Regions from separate parts of the Homo sapiens genome. Here all the other regions are linked to region 4. The links are contacts of gene promoters, found by promoter capture Hi-C in human tissues and cell types (Jung and others, 2019). All regions are on one chromosome and are shown on one strand. The core of a region is centred on a gene start or on the middle of the fragment in contact, and the rest is flanking DNA. Distances in the headings are between cores, read along the strand shown.

Region 1 (2,933 bases), core at 313-2,812, 44 kb after region 4:
CAGGCTGAGCAAGAGGAAAAGCAAAAGCAAAGAGGACAGGAGGAAGAAGAGCTTCCAAAGTCAAGCCTGCAGCGGCTGGAAGAAGGGACCCAAAAAATGAAAACACAAGGGTTGCTCTTGGAAAAGGAGAATGGACAGATGAGGCAGATTCAGAAGGAAGCGAAACATTTGGGGCCACACAGGAGAAGGGAGAAAGGGAAGGAAAAGCAGAAGCCAGAGAGAGGGCTAGAGGACCTCGAAAGGCAGATCAAAACAAAGGATCAGATGCAGATGAAGGAAACACAACCTAAAGAGCTAGAAAAAATGGTCATCCAAACTCCAATGACATTATCTCCCAGGTGGAAGAGTGTATTGAAAGATGTACAGCGGTCATATGAAGGAAAAGAGTTTCAGAGGAATCTGAAGACATTAGAGAACCTTCCTGATGAAAAGGAGCCCATATCAATCACACCTCCCCCCTCCCTACAATACTCCCTGCCTGGAGCTCTTCCTATTTCTGGCCAGCCTCTCACTAAATGCATTCATCTCACACCTCAGCAGGCCCAGGAAGTGGGGATCACACTCACTCCTCAGCAGGCCCAGGCTCAGGGGATCACGCTCACCCTTCAGCAGGCCCAGGAACTAGGGATCCCTCTCACCCCTCAGCAGGCCCAGGCCCTGGAGATCCTTTTCACCCCTCAGCAGGCGCAGGCCCTGGGGATCCCTCTCACCCCTCAGCAGACCCAGGTTCAAGGGATCACTCTCACCCCTCAGCAGGACCAGGCCCCGGGGATCTCTCTCACCACTCAGCAGGCTCAGAAACTAGGGATCCCTCTTACCCCTCAGCAGGCCCAGGCCCTGGGGATCCCTCTCACCCCTCAGCAGGCTCAGGAATTGGGGATCCCTCTCACCCCTCAGCAGGCCCAGGCCCTGAGGGTCTCTCTCACCCCTCAGCAGGCTCAGGAATTGGGGATCCCTCTCACCCCTCAGCAGGCCCAGGCCCTGGGGATCACTCTAACCCTTCAGCAGGCCCAGCAATTGGGGATCCCTCTCACCCCTCAGCAGGCGCAGGCTCTCGGAATCACTCTCACCCCTAAGCAGGTTCAGGAACTGGGGATCCCTCTTACTCCTCAGCAGGCCCAGGCCCTGGGGATCACTCTCACCCCTAAGCAGGCTCAGGAATTGGGGATCCCTCTCAACCCTCAGCAGGCCCAGACCCTGGGGATCCCTCTCACCCCTAAGCAGGCACAGGCTCTGGGGATCCCTTTCACCCCTCAGCAGGCGCAGGCCCTGGGGATCCCTCTCACCCCTCAGCAGGCGCAGACTCAGGAGATCACTCTCACCCCTCAGCAGGCCCAGGCCTTGGGGATGCCTCTCACCACTCAGCAGGCTCAGGAACTGGGGATCCCTCTCACCCCTCAGCACGCTCAGGCCTTGGGGATGCCTCTCACCACTCAGCAGGCTCAGGAACTGGGGATCCCTCTCACCCCTCAGCAGGCTCAGGCCTTGGGGATGCCTCTCACCACTCAGCAGGCTCAGGAACTGGGGATCCCTCTCACCCCTCAGCAGGCTCAGGAATTGGGGATCCCTTTCACCCCTCAGCAGGCACAGGCTCAGGAGATCACTCTCACCCCTCAGCAGGCCCAGGCCCTGGGGATGCCTCTCACCGCTCAGCAGGCTCAGGAGCTGGGGATCACTCTCACCCCTCAGCAGGCTCAGGAATTGGGGATCCCTCTCACCCCTCAGCAGGCCCAGGCCCTGGGGATCCCTCTCATCCCTCCGCAGGCTCAGGAATTGGGGATCCCTCTCACCCCTCAGCAGGCCCAGGCCCTGGGGATCCTTCTCATCCCTCCGCAGGCTCAGGAATTGGGGATCCCTCTCACCCCTCAGCAGGCCCAGGCCCTGGGGATCCCTCTGATCCCTCCGCAGGCTCAGGAATTGGGGATCCCTCTCACCCCTCAGCAGGTCCAGGCCCTGGGGATCCCTCTCATCCCTCCGCAGGCTCAGGAATTGGAGATCCCTCTCACCCCTCAGCAGGCCCAGGCCCTGGGGATCCCTCTCACCCCTCAGCAGGCGCAGGAACTGGGGATCCCTCTCACCCCTCAGCAGGCGCAGGAACTGGGGATCCCTCTCACCCCTCAGCAGGCGCAGGCTCAGGGGATCCCTCTCACCCCTCAGCAGGCCCAGGCTCTGGGGATCTCTCTCACCCCTCAGCAGGCGCAGGCTCAGGGGATCACTCTCACCCCTCAGCAGGCCCAGGCACTGGGAGTCCCCATCACCCCAGTAAATGCCTGGGTGTCAGCTGTCACTCTTACCTCTGAGCAAACCCACGCTTTGGAGTCCCCTATGAACTTAGAACAGGCTCAAGAACAGTTATTGAAGTTAGGGGTTCCTCTCACCTTAGATAAAGCCCATACCTTGGGATCGCCCCTCACCCTTAAGCAAGTCCAGTGGTCCCATAGACCATTTCAGAAATCGAAGGCTTCTCTCCCCACTGGGCAATCCATCATATCAAGATTGTCTCCAAGTCTTAGGCTGTCCCTGGCATCATCAGCTCCTACTGCTGAGAAGTCCTCTATATTCGGGGTCTCTTCTACTCCTTTGCAGATATCAAGGGTTCCCCTCAACCAAGGCCCCTTTGCCCCTGGGAAGCCCCTAGAAATGGGGATTCTTTCTGAGCCTGGGAAGCTTGGGGCACCACAGACTCTTCGTTCCTCTGGACAGACCCTGGTATACGGAGGTCAATCCACTTCTGCGCAGTTCCCGGCACCACAGGCCCCTCCCTCCCCTGGGCAGCTCCCAATATCTCGGGCCCCTCCCACTCCAGGGCAGCCCTTTATAGCTGGAGTTCCACCCACTTCTGGACAGATTCCAAGTCTCTGGGCTCCTCTTTCTCCTGGGCAGCCCTTAGTTCCTGAAGCCTCTTCCATCCCTGGGGACCTCCTGGAATCTGG
Region 2 (2,700 bases), core at 43-2,542, 45 kb before region 4:
TAGACAGAGGAAGTAGAATGACAGCTAGAAAACAGCCTCATCTGTAATATGGAAACTAATAATCCCACCTACTTCACAGCAATTATGAGATTTAAATATGGTAAGTTCTTAGAACCTCTTAATAAATGTAAGTCACTGTTATCCTAGTTCTTCCACTTACTAGTTATGTGAAACTAGGTAGGTTACCCTCGTGTCTTATTATCCTCACTAGGAAACTGAAGAAAACAAAAGCACTATCTCATTAGGTTCCTGTAAGGATTAAATGAGTCAATACATGTAAAGTGCTTAAAACAGAAAGTGACACACAGAGTTCAACACAGAGGGATTAGTAAGAATAATGTATTACATTTACAAATAAGAATAACTATAGCACACAGGGAATGAGGATCAAGTCGAACTAAGTGTATGTTACTGGATTATGGTTTAGAACACTAGCTCTGGTAGCAATGTGAAGAACAGATTGTTAAGGGGGGGAAAAACTGGTAACACAGCAGTTAAGAGGCTACTCCAAGTGTTCAAGCCTAAACAATGGGAGATTTTTGGAAAGCATTTTCACAGGACCTGAGAACAGATTAGACATGTAAAGACAGGGATCAAATGTGTCATCAGTGACAATGCCTAGGTTTCCAAATGGTTGTATTGATGGTACGTAGTGATGCAGTTAATTGAGATGAGGTTGAAAGTACTGTGAATATTTTTCATCTGTTACTAAAAATTATTTCTATTGCTCATTTTGAGATCTGGAATTATCTCATATGTTGTAAATCAGCATCTAATTAAACCTCATGCTATTTGAAGTTACCCCTTTGTAAAGAATTGCTGTACACAAAGTATTTTTATGGCTTATCAAAGGATTTTCTGAAGTAGCACATAATACAAGCCAGAAAATTTGTTGTTGTTGTTTTTGAGACAAGGTCTTGCTCTGTCCCCCAGGCTGGAGTGCAGTGATGCAATCTCTGCTCACTGCAACCTACGCCTCCCGGGTTAAAGCAGTTCTCCTGCCTCAGCCTCTCAAGTATCTGGAACTACAGGCGTGTGCCACAACACCCGGCTAATTTTTTCTATTTTTAGTAGAGATGGGGTTTCATCATATTGGCAAGGCTGGTCTCGAACTCCTGGCGTCATGCTATCCACCTGCCTTGGACTCCCAAAGTGCTGGGATCACAGGTGTGAGCCACCACGCCTGGACCAAGCCAGAAACTTTTTGAAAGTCACTATGGGTTTTTATAAAATATTATCTGTCTGTATTTTTTAAATTCTCATACAGAGAACCAAAACCTGTTCTGGTTTCACACTGATCTCTATTTCTTACCATAATTGGCTTGCCCTGAAATGTTTTAACTTCTTCTCTTAAGTATTTAAAAGCCTGTTAACAAAGCACAAAAAAAACTTTCATTAGCATTCAAACATTTCAGTAAAGTTATCTTTATTATGTTGAGAGTTTAGTATTAAACTATAAAAACAAAATTATGTAGGTGATTCCACTGTGCAGGTGGACAGGGAATGAAAAAGTAAAAATGTAACGCCTTCTCAATCACAGTTCATATTTATTGTAGAAAAGCCACCATGGATTACTGCAGACAAAATGCATTAGGATTGAAAACAGACCCAAAATATCCCTAGAAACCAATTTAAAAATGATCAACTTTCTAATAAATTGTTTTAAAAAATAAAAATCTGTGAGTGATTTTTAAACACCCTTATCATAGATATATTTGTGTTTCAAAGGATTATTTCTCTTTAAGACATGTTAACAATTAAGAATAAAACCATCACCGGGTGCAGTGGCTCATGCCTGTAATCCCAGCACTTCGGAAGGCTGAGGCAGGCGAATCACGAGGTCAGGAGTTTGAGACCGGCCTGACCAATATGGTGAAACCCCACCTCTACTAAAAATACAAAAAATTAGCTGGGTGTAGTGGCGGGTGCCTGTAATTCCAGCTACTTGGGAGGCTGAGGCAGGAGAATCACTTGAACCCAGGAGGTGGAGGTTGCAGTGAGCCGAGATTGCGCCACTGCACTCCAGCCCGGGCGACAGAGTGAGACTCCGTCTCAAAAAAAAAAAAAAGAATAAAACCATCAAGTCAAAATTCCAAGAATTTTGTTTATTGCAGACCTATTATGTACTAAAAATACCACTAGGTACATGGTTCTCGATCCCTATGTTAATTTTAAAACTGTTATGTTAATATTCTTATCGACAGAAAACAAACTTCCTAAATCAAAACTGAAAAACTTTAGGAAGATGATCAAAAAGGAAACCAATTGAGCAAAAGCAAAAGGGTGACCAAGGTACTCACTAGTCTTGATAAACATCAGTGTAAACACACATTTTCTCAATTAAAATATACCACTACTTATTTTGCCACTAGGATGGACTTGTATCAGAAAATGTTTTCTTCTTACCTGTTGTGCATCTGTGTCTGACTGGAAAGTGATATACCAGTTGCTATTGTGTGCAAACTCACAGCTTATCACTTTGGGGCAGTTTTCACTTTTGAACAAACCTTTCACTTCCTAAAAAGAAAAAGAAAATTAGTTAACTCTAAAAAATACATCAATAATTGGCATTTTTTGTTGGTTTGTTTACTAGTAATGTTAAGCCTATCTTCATGTCTTTGGTCCTATCACTTCACTTAACTTTTGCCCATTTTTCCACTGAGGATGGGCTGTTTCAAAACAAATACAGAGTTAATAGGA
Region 3 (3,118 bases), core at 47-2,546, 61 kb after region 4:
CTCTCTCAATATAGATAGAGATGGATAAATAAAATCTCAGGTAAATCTCACTGATTCACCTGAGGCAATATATATATATACGCATGTATATAAAATACATATATTTAGAAAAATGTCTTTGATGGGTCCCCATCATCTACCAAAAAAAAAAATAAGAGAAGATCCAAACTCCTTAACATACCTTTGAAAGCCTTTCATCTTTCACTATCCAACCATTCCAGTCTCATCCCCCACTATATCCTTTCACATATCTGTGGTCAAAAACCCCAGACTACTCATCACTCTCAAAATATAACTTTCGTTTTCTTACCTTTGTTTATGGGATTTCTCCACCTGGACTTCCTCATCCCCTTCTTCCCTGTTCTGTCCGTAAGCACAATGGTTTTCAAACTTTAGTAAAGTAAGAGTTACCTGAGATTTTAAAATGCAGATTCCTGAAGCCTACCACTAAGATTTTGATTCAAAAGGTATGGAGAAGGACCTTGGAACCTGCATTTTCAACAAGCACCCCACCCGTCTACCCCATATGGTTCAGTCTAGGTGATCAGAGTCCGCACCTTGAGAAATATTGGCATTGTGGAAGAAAGAAGTTCTGGGCTTGCTTCCCAAATCTACCATTTATCAATTATGGGACATTAGAAAAAACACTTAACTTTGCTGAGATTTCTTTTCCTCTTCTGTAGAATGAGGATGGCAAAACTCTGTTTAGGACCACCAAAATGTGGTGGAATACATTATAGGAGGGCAGTAGGGAGAGAGAGAGAAAGGGAGAATCTTTTTATGACTGTCCCTCAAAATTCTGCTTGACACCTTCCTATAAAGCCTTCTTTATTACTCTTTTTTTTTTTTTTGAGATGGAGTCTCACTCTGTCACCCAGGCTGGAGTGCAATGGTGTGGTCTCGGCTCACTGCAACCTCCACCTCCCAGGTTCAAGTGATTCTCCTGCCTCAGCCTCCTGAGTAGCTGGGACTATAGGCGCCCGCCATCACACCGGGCTAATTTTTGTATTTTTTAGTAGAGTCAGGGTTTCACCATGTTGGTCAGTCTGGTCTGGAGCCCCTGACCTCGTGATCTGCCCACCTCGGCCTCCCAAAGTGCTGGGATTACAGGCATGAGCCACTGCGCCCGGCCTTATTACCCTTACTGGAATTAACTATGCTTTCCTTTTTGCTCCTGCAGCCTATTTAGTTAGCATTTATTTCATTCTATTTCTTTTTTTTTACAAGTAACGTAGTGTCCTATTCTGGATTATAAGTGCTTTTGAAGGCAAGGACACTGTCTTTTCCATAATTGTATTAAGTACTTTCTATGTGTCATTTTTTTTTTTTTGAGATAGGATCTCACACTCTGTTGCCCAGGCTGGAGTGCAGTGGCACGATCTCGGCTCACTGCAACCTCTGTTGCTCGGGTTCAAGTGATTCTTCTGCCTCAGCCTCCCAAGTAGCTGGGATTACAGTCACCTGCCACCGCACCTGGCTAATTTTTGTGTTTTTAGAGGAGATGGGGTTTCACCATGTTGGCCAGGCTGCTCTTGAACTCTTGACCTTGTGATCCACCAGCCTTGGCTTCCCAAAGTGCTTGGATTACAGGCGTGAGACACTGTGCCCGGCCTTACCTTCTATGTGTCTTACACATATCTATACATATGAAAAAAATGATCTATCTTATCCCCTAAGGTAATTTTTATTACAAATAGCCACATTTAACTAATTTTTTAAGAGTTGGAGTCTTGCCCTTAACAAAAAGGTGAATGTAATGGCGTGATCATAACTCACTGCAGCCTCGAACTCCCTAGGCTCAAGCAAGCCTCTCACCTCAGCCTCCTGAGTGGCTGTGTCTACAGGTATGTGCCACCATGCCCAGCTATTTTTATTTTGCAGAGACGGAGTCTTACTATATTGCCCAAGCTGGTCACAGACTCCTGGCCTCAAGCGATCCTCCCACCTCAGCCTCCCAAAGTGCTGGGATTACAGGCATGAGCCACTTCACCTGGCATAATTTTTAAAATATATTAAAATAATTGTAAGCAACACTATTTTAACACTGGAAATTTTGTGAAGACTTAATGAAAATTTTGATAATCATATAGATTTTTGAAGGTTCATTCATAGGAACTGGATTAAAGTCTTATTAAGCAAGCTTCCCATCCTTCTCTACTTACTGGGGATGATGAGAGAATTGAAAGAAACTGAGGACAGGTTGGGCATAGTGGCTCACTCCTGTAATCCCAACATTTTGGGAGGCTGTGGCAGGAGGATCGCTTGAGGTCAAGAGTTCAAGACCAGCCTGGACAACATGGCAAAACCCCATCTCTACTAAAAATACAAAAATTAGCTGGGCGTGGTGGTGCACACCTGTATTCCCAGCTACTTGGGAGGCTGAGGCATGAGAATCGCTTGAACCCATGAGGCAGAGGTTGCAGTGAGTCAAGATCACACCACTGCACTCCAGCCTGGGCAACAGAGTGAGACTCTGTCTCAAAAAAATAAAATTAAATTAAAAAGAGGCCATGCTCAGTGGCTCAGGACTGTAATCCCAGCACTTTGGGAGGACAAGGAAAGTGGATCACGAGGTCAGGAGTTTGAGACCAGCCTGACCAACATGGAGAAACCCCGTCTCTACTAAAAATACAAAAATTAGCTGGGCATGGTGGTGCGCACCTGTAGTCCCAGCTACTCAGGAAGCTGAGGCAGGATAATTTCTTGAATCCAGGAGGTGGAGGTTGCAATAAGCCATGATTGCACCATTGCACCTCCAGCCTGGGCAACAAGATCGAAACTCCGTCTCAAAAAAAAAAAAGAAACTGAGGACAAGTTTGTTGAAGTAGGGTCTGCAACTATTATCGCTCTAATTTTTATTAATCTTTTCAAGGAACAACATAATGAAACGACTAAAAGCCATCCAAAATACTGGGAAAGGCTATGAGGCCAGGAACCTCCACATGATGCTGAGCAGACTTGATGACTACGGGAAAAAGGTGATGCAGGTCTGGACTGAGAAGCAGAAGTCTCTAGGGCAGAAACGGAATCAGTGCCTGAAGAAAATGATACACGTATTCAACCAGGTAACCTGCTTTCCACTCCCTCTGTCCAGCATGTTGTAAAAACATGAAAGTGG
Region 4 (2,825 bases), core at 172-2,671:
AGATTCCGTCTCAAAAAAAAAAAAAAAAAAAATTAGCCAGGTGTGGTGGCGCATGCCTGTAATCCCAGCTACTCGGGAGGCTGAGGTAGAAGAATCGTTTGAACCTGGGAGGCAGAGGTTACAGTCTGCTGAGATGGCACTACTACACTCCAGCCTGGACAACAGAGTGAGACTCTGCCTCAAAAAAAAAAAAAGAAAGAAAGAAAGGAAGGAAGGAAGGAAGGAAGGAAGGAAGGAAGGAAGGAAGGAAGGAAGGAGAAAGAAAGAAAGAAAGAAAAAACAATACATACACCTGTAGTAAAACTATGTAAAAATAGATAACACAAATATGTAAAATTCATGATTGTCATTTCCTCTGGAATGGGACAGTGGGGAAGGAAGGAACCAGGGGTGGGGGACATCAAAGAGGACTTCAACCTTCTGTAATGCTTTTTTATTATTAAAAAAATTGGAAGCAAATATTAAACAAAAATTAGCCAGGCGTGGTGGCGCGCACCTGTAATTCCAGCTACTCAGGGAGGCTGAGGCACAAGAATCTCTTGAACCTGGGAGGCAGAGGTTGCCATGAACCAAGATCACACCACTGCACTCCAGCCTGGGTAACAAAGTGAGACTCTGTCTCCAAAAAAAAGGGAAAGAAAAGAAAAGAAAAGAAAAAAGAGTAAGCAGTGCAAAGAGTGTGATCCTCATCCAAATGATATCATCCAAGTTACTTCATCCAAATGATATCATCCAAGTTACTACATGTCTAGGAAAAGTTAAGGGGCAGCTGAGGAAGTAGTTGTAACCTTTATTCCATTACAGGCTTAAAAATACTTAAGCAAAACCCCAGGAAGAGAGAAGAACCAGGAGTTATATTTGACACACCTAGATTTTTTTTTTTTTTTTTTTGAGACAGTTTCACTCTTGTTGCCCAGGCTGGAGTGCAATGACGTGATCTCGGCTCACCACAACCTCCGCCTCCCGGGTTCAAGTGATTCTCCTGCCTCAGCCTCCCAAGTAGCTGGGACTACACGCATGTGCCACCTCACATGGCTAATTTTGTATTTTTTTTTTTTTAGTAGAGACGGGGTTTCTCCATGTTGGTCAGGCTGGTCTCGAACTCCGACCTCTGGTGATCCACCTGCCTCGGCCTCCCAAAGTGCTGGGATTACAGGCATGAGCCACTGCACCCGGCCAACACATCTAGATTTTAAGCTTATTTAAGCAGGGCTATATCTTCTGTTTATTTTAGCATTCCTGTTGTCTATTATTTCCTACCCTCCTTCCCCCCTCACCCTTCTACCATGGCAGCATATAGAATGACCAGTTCTCTGCACATAGTAAGCATTCTTTACATGTTTGATCAATGATAATGTCACAATGGGTCTATTGTGACATCAACAGGACGGGAATATCATGGGAGCCACCAATTAGTAGCAGAGTATGCCACAACTTCTAGGATCAGGAAAGACCTCTCCTAGCTTCCTACTGGATATCTTTATTAGCATTTTTGTAGATTCTGTGAAAAAGAAGAAATAAAACGAAATCACCCACATTTTCAAAATGTTCTTCAAAATGAAAAATGAGATAGACAATGACCCTGAATCAGAAAAATGCATCAAGGATTCCACCATCATGAGAAGAGAGCCCCAAAATATCCTTAGTCCTTTGATGCTCCCTAACCTTGAGATCCCATTCTCAGTAAAGGATATCATCTCTAGGATTGAGCGCGCACAGCTCCATCGAGCCAGAGAGGTAGGTAGTGAATCTGAAGTTTACAGACTGCAATTTTCTTTTTAAACTTTCTGTGACCAAGTACATTTTTGTTTATTTTAGAAATCACTTTCATGATATTTGACTGTATTTAGGGTAGCTTTGACTTCAAATGACAATTTCACCTGACACCGACTGTGGATATAACAAGCTCCAATTTGACATTAATCTCTTTATATCAGGTTTAATAAAGCCATTTAAGAAATAAATCAAGCCGGGCATGGTGGCTCACGCCTGTAATCCCAGCACTTTGGGAGGCCGAGGCGGGCGGATCACTGAGGTCGGGAGTTCAAGACCAGCCTGACCAACATGGAGAAACCACCGTTTCTACTAAAAATACAAAAAGTTAGCTGGGCATGATTGCACTTGCCTGTAATCCCAGCTACTCAGGAGGCTGAGGTAGGAGAATTGCTTGAACCAGGGAGGTGGAGGTTGTGGTGAGCCAAGATTGCACCATTGCACTCCAGCCTGGGCAACAAAAGCGAAACTCTATCTCAAAAAAAAAAAAAGTTTTCATTTGTTCCCTATGGAGGTTTTATCAAACAGCTATTAGCCAGATAGAATTTAGATGGCTTTGAATTCTAGCTCCTTTTATTTTCCCTGTACACTTCAAGGAGAAATTAGGAGAAATTCAAGGAGAATAGAAAGAGTGTTTACATAATGTCAGCCGGGTGCGGTGGCTTATGCCTGTAATCCCAACACTTTGGGAAGCTGAGATGGGAGGATCCCTTGAGGCCAGGAGTTAGAGACCAGCCTGGTCAACATAGTGAGACCCCATCTATATTTTTAGAAAAATAAATAAATAAATAAATACATAAGAATCTAATAGACCCCCAAACAATTAAGGTTATACTGCATTTTATTCTCTCGCAGTACAACAAAATCAGGCCAGGCACAGCGATTCATGCCTGTAATCCCAATGCTTTGGGAGGCCAAGGCAGGAGGATCTCTTGAGCCCAGGAGTTCTAGACCAGCTTGGCCAACATAAGGAGACCTCCTGTCTACTAAAAATAAAAAAATTAGCCAGGCATGTTAGCTCAAACCTGTAGTCCCAGCTCCTTGGGAGGCCA

The links. Contacts are between HindIII fragments. The study calls those that stand out against the background at their distance.
Region 1: a fragment that was not itself captured here is called in contact with the fragment with the promoter of FAM186A in region 4 in 1 of the 25 tissues and cell types used here (bladder).
Region 2: a contact is called between a fragment that was not itself captured here and the fragment with the promoter of FAM186A in region 4, in 1 of the 25 tissues and cell types used here (hippocampus).
Region 3: a fragment that was not itself captured here is called in contact with the fragment with the promoter of FAM186A in region 4 in 1 of the 25 tissues and cell types used here (mesenchymal stem cells).

Annotation. Positions count from the first base shown.
Region 1 is chr12:50,351,202-50,354,134 of GRCh38, reverse strand. FAM186A (family with sequence similarity 186 member A) reads left to right here. Exons shown (of 8, transcript NM_001145475.3): 4 at 1-2,933. Among named protein-coding and RNA genes, the nearest start is that of FAM186A, 44 kb to the left of the region's middle. The HindIII fragment of the contact is 3,491 bases long and covers 1-2,933 here.
Region 2 is chr12:50,440,256-50,442,955 of GRCh38, reverse strand. LARP4 (La ribonucleoprotein 4) reads right to left here. Exons shown (of 16, transcript NM_052879.5): 7 at 2,407-2,517; 8 at 1,313-1,366. Among named protein-coding and RNA genes, the nearest start is that of SNORD133, 15 kb to the left of the region's middle. The HindIII fragment of the contact is 6,893 bases long and covers 1-2,700 here.
Region 3 is chr12:50,333,858-50,336,975 of GRCh38, reverse strand. FAM186A (family with sequence similarity 186 member A) reads left to right here. Exons shown (of 8, transcript NM_001145475.3): 5 at 2,873-3,065. Among named protein-coding and RNA genes, the nearest start is that of LIMA1, 52 kb to the right of the region's middle. The HindIII fragment of the contact is 5,482 bases long and covers 1-3,118 here.
Region 4 is chr12:50,395,205-50,398,029 of GRCh38, reverse strand. FAM186A (family with sequence similarity 186 member A) reads left to right here and starts at 1,421. Exons shown (of 8, transcript NM_001145475.3): 1 at 1,421-1,737. The coding sequence starts at 1,546. The HindIII fragment of the contact is 8,551 bases long and covers 1-2,825 here.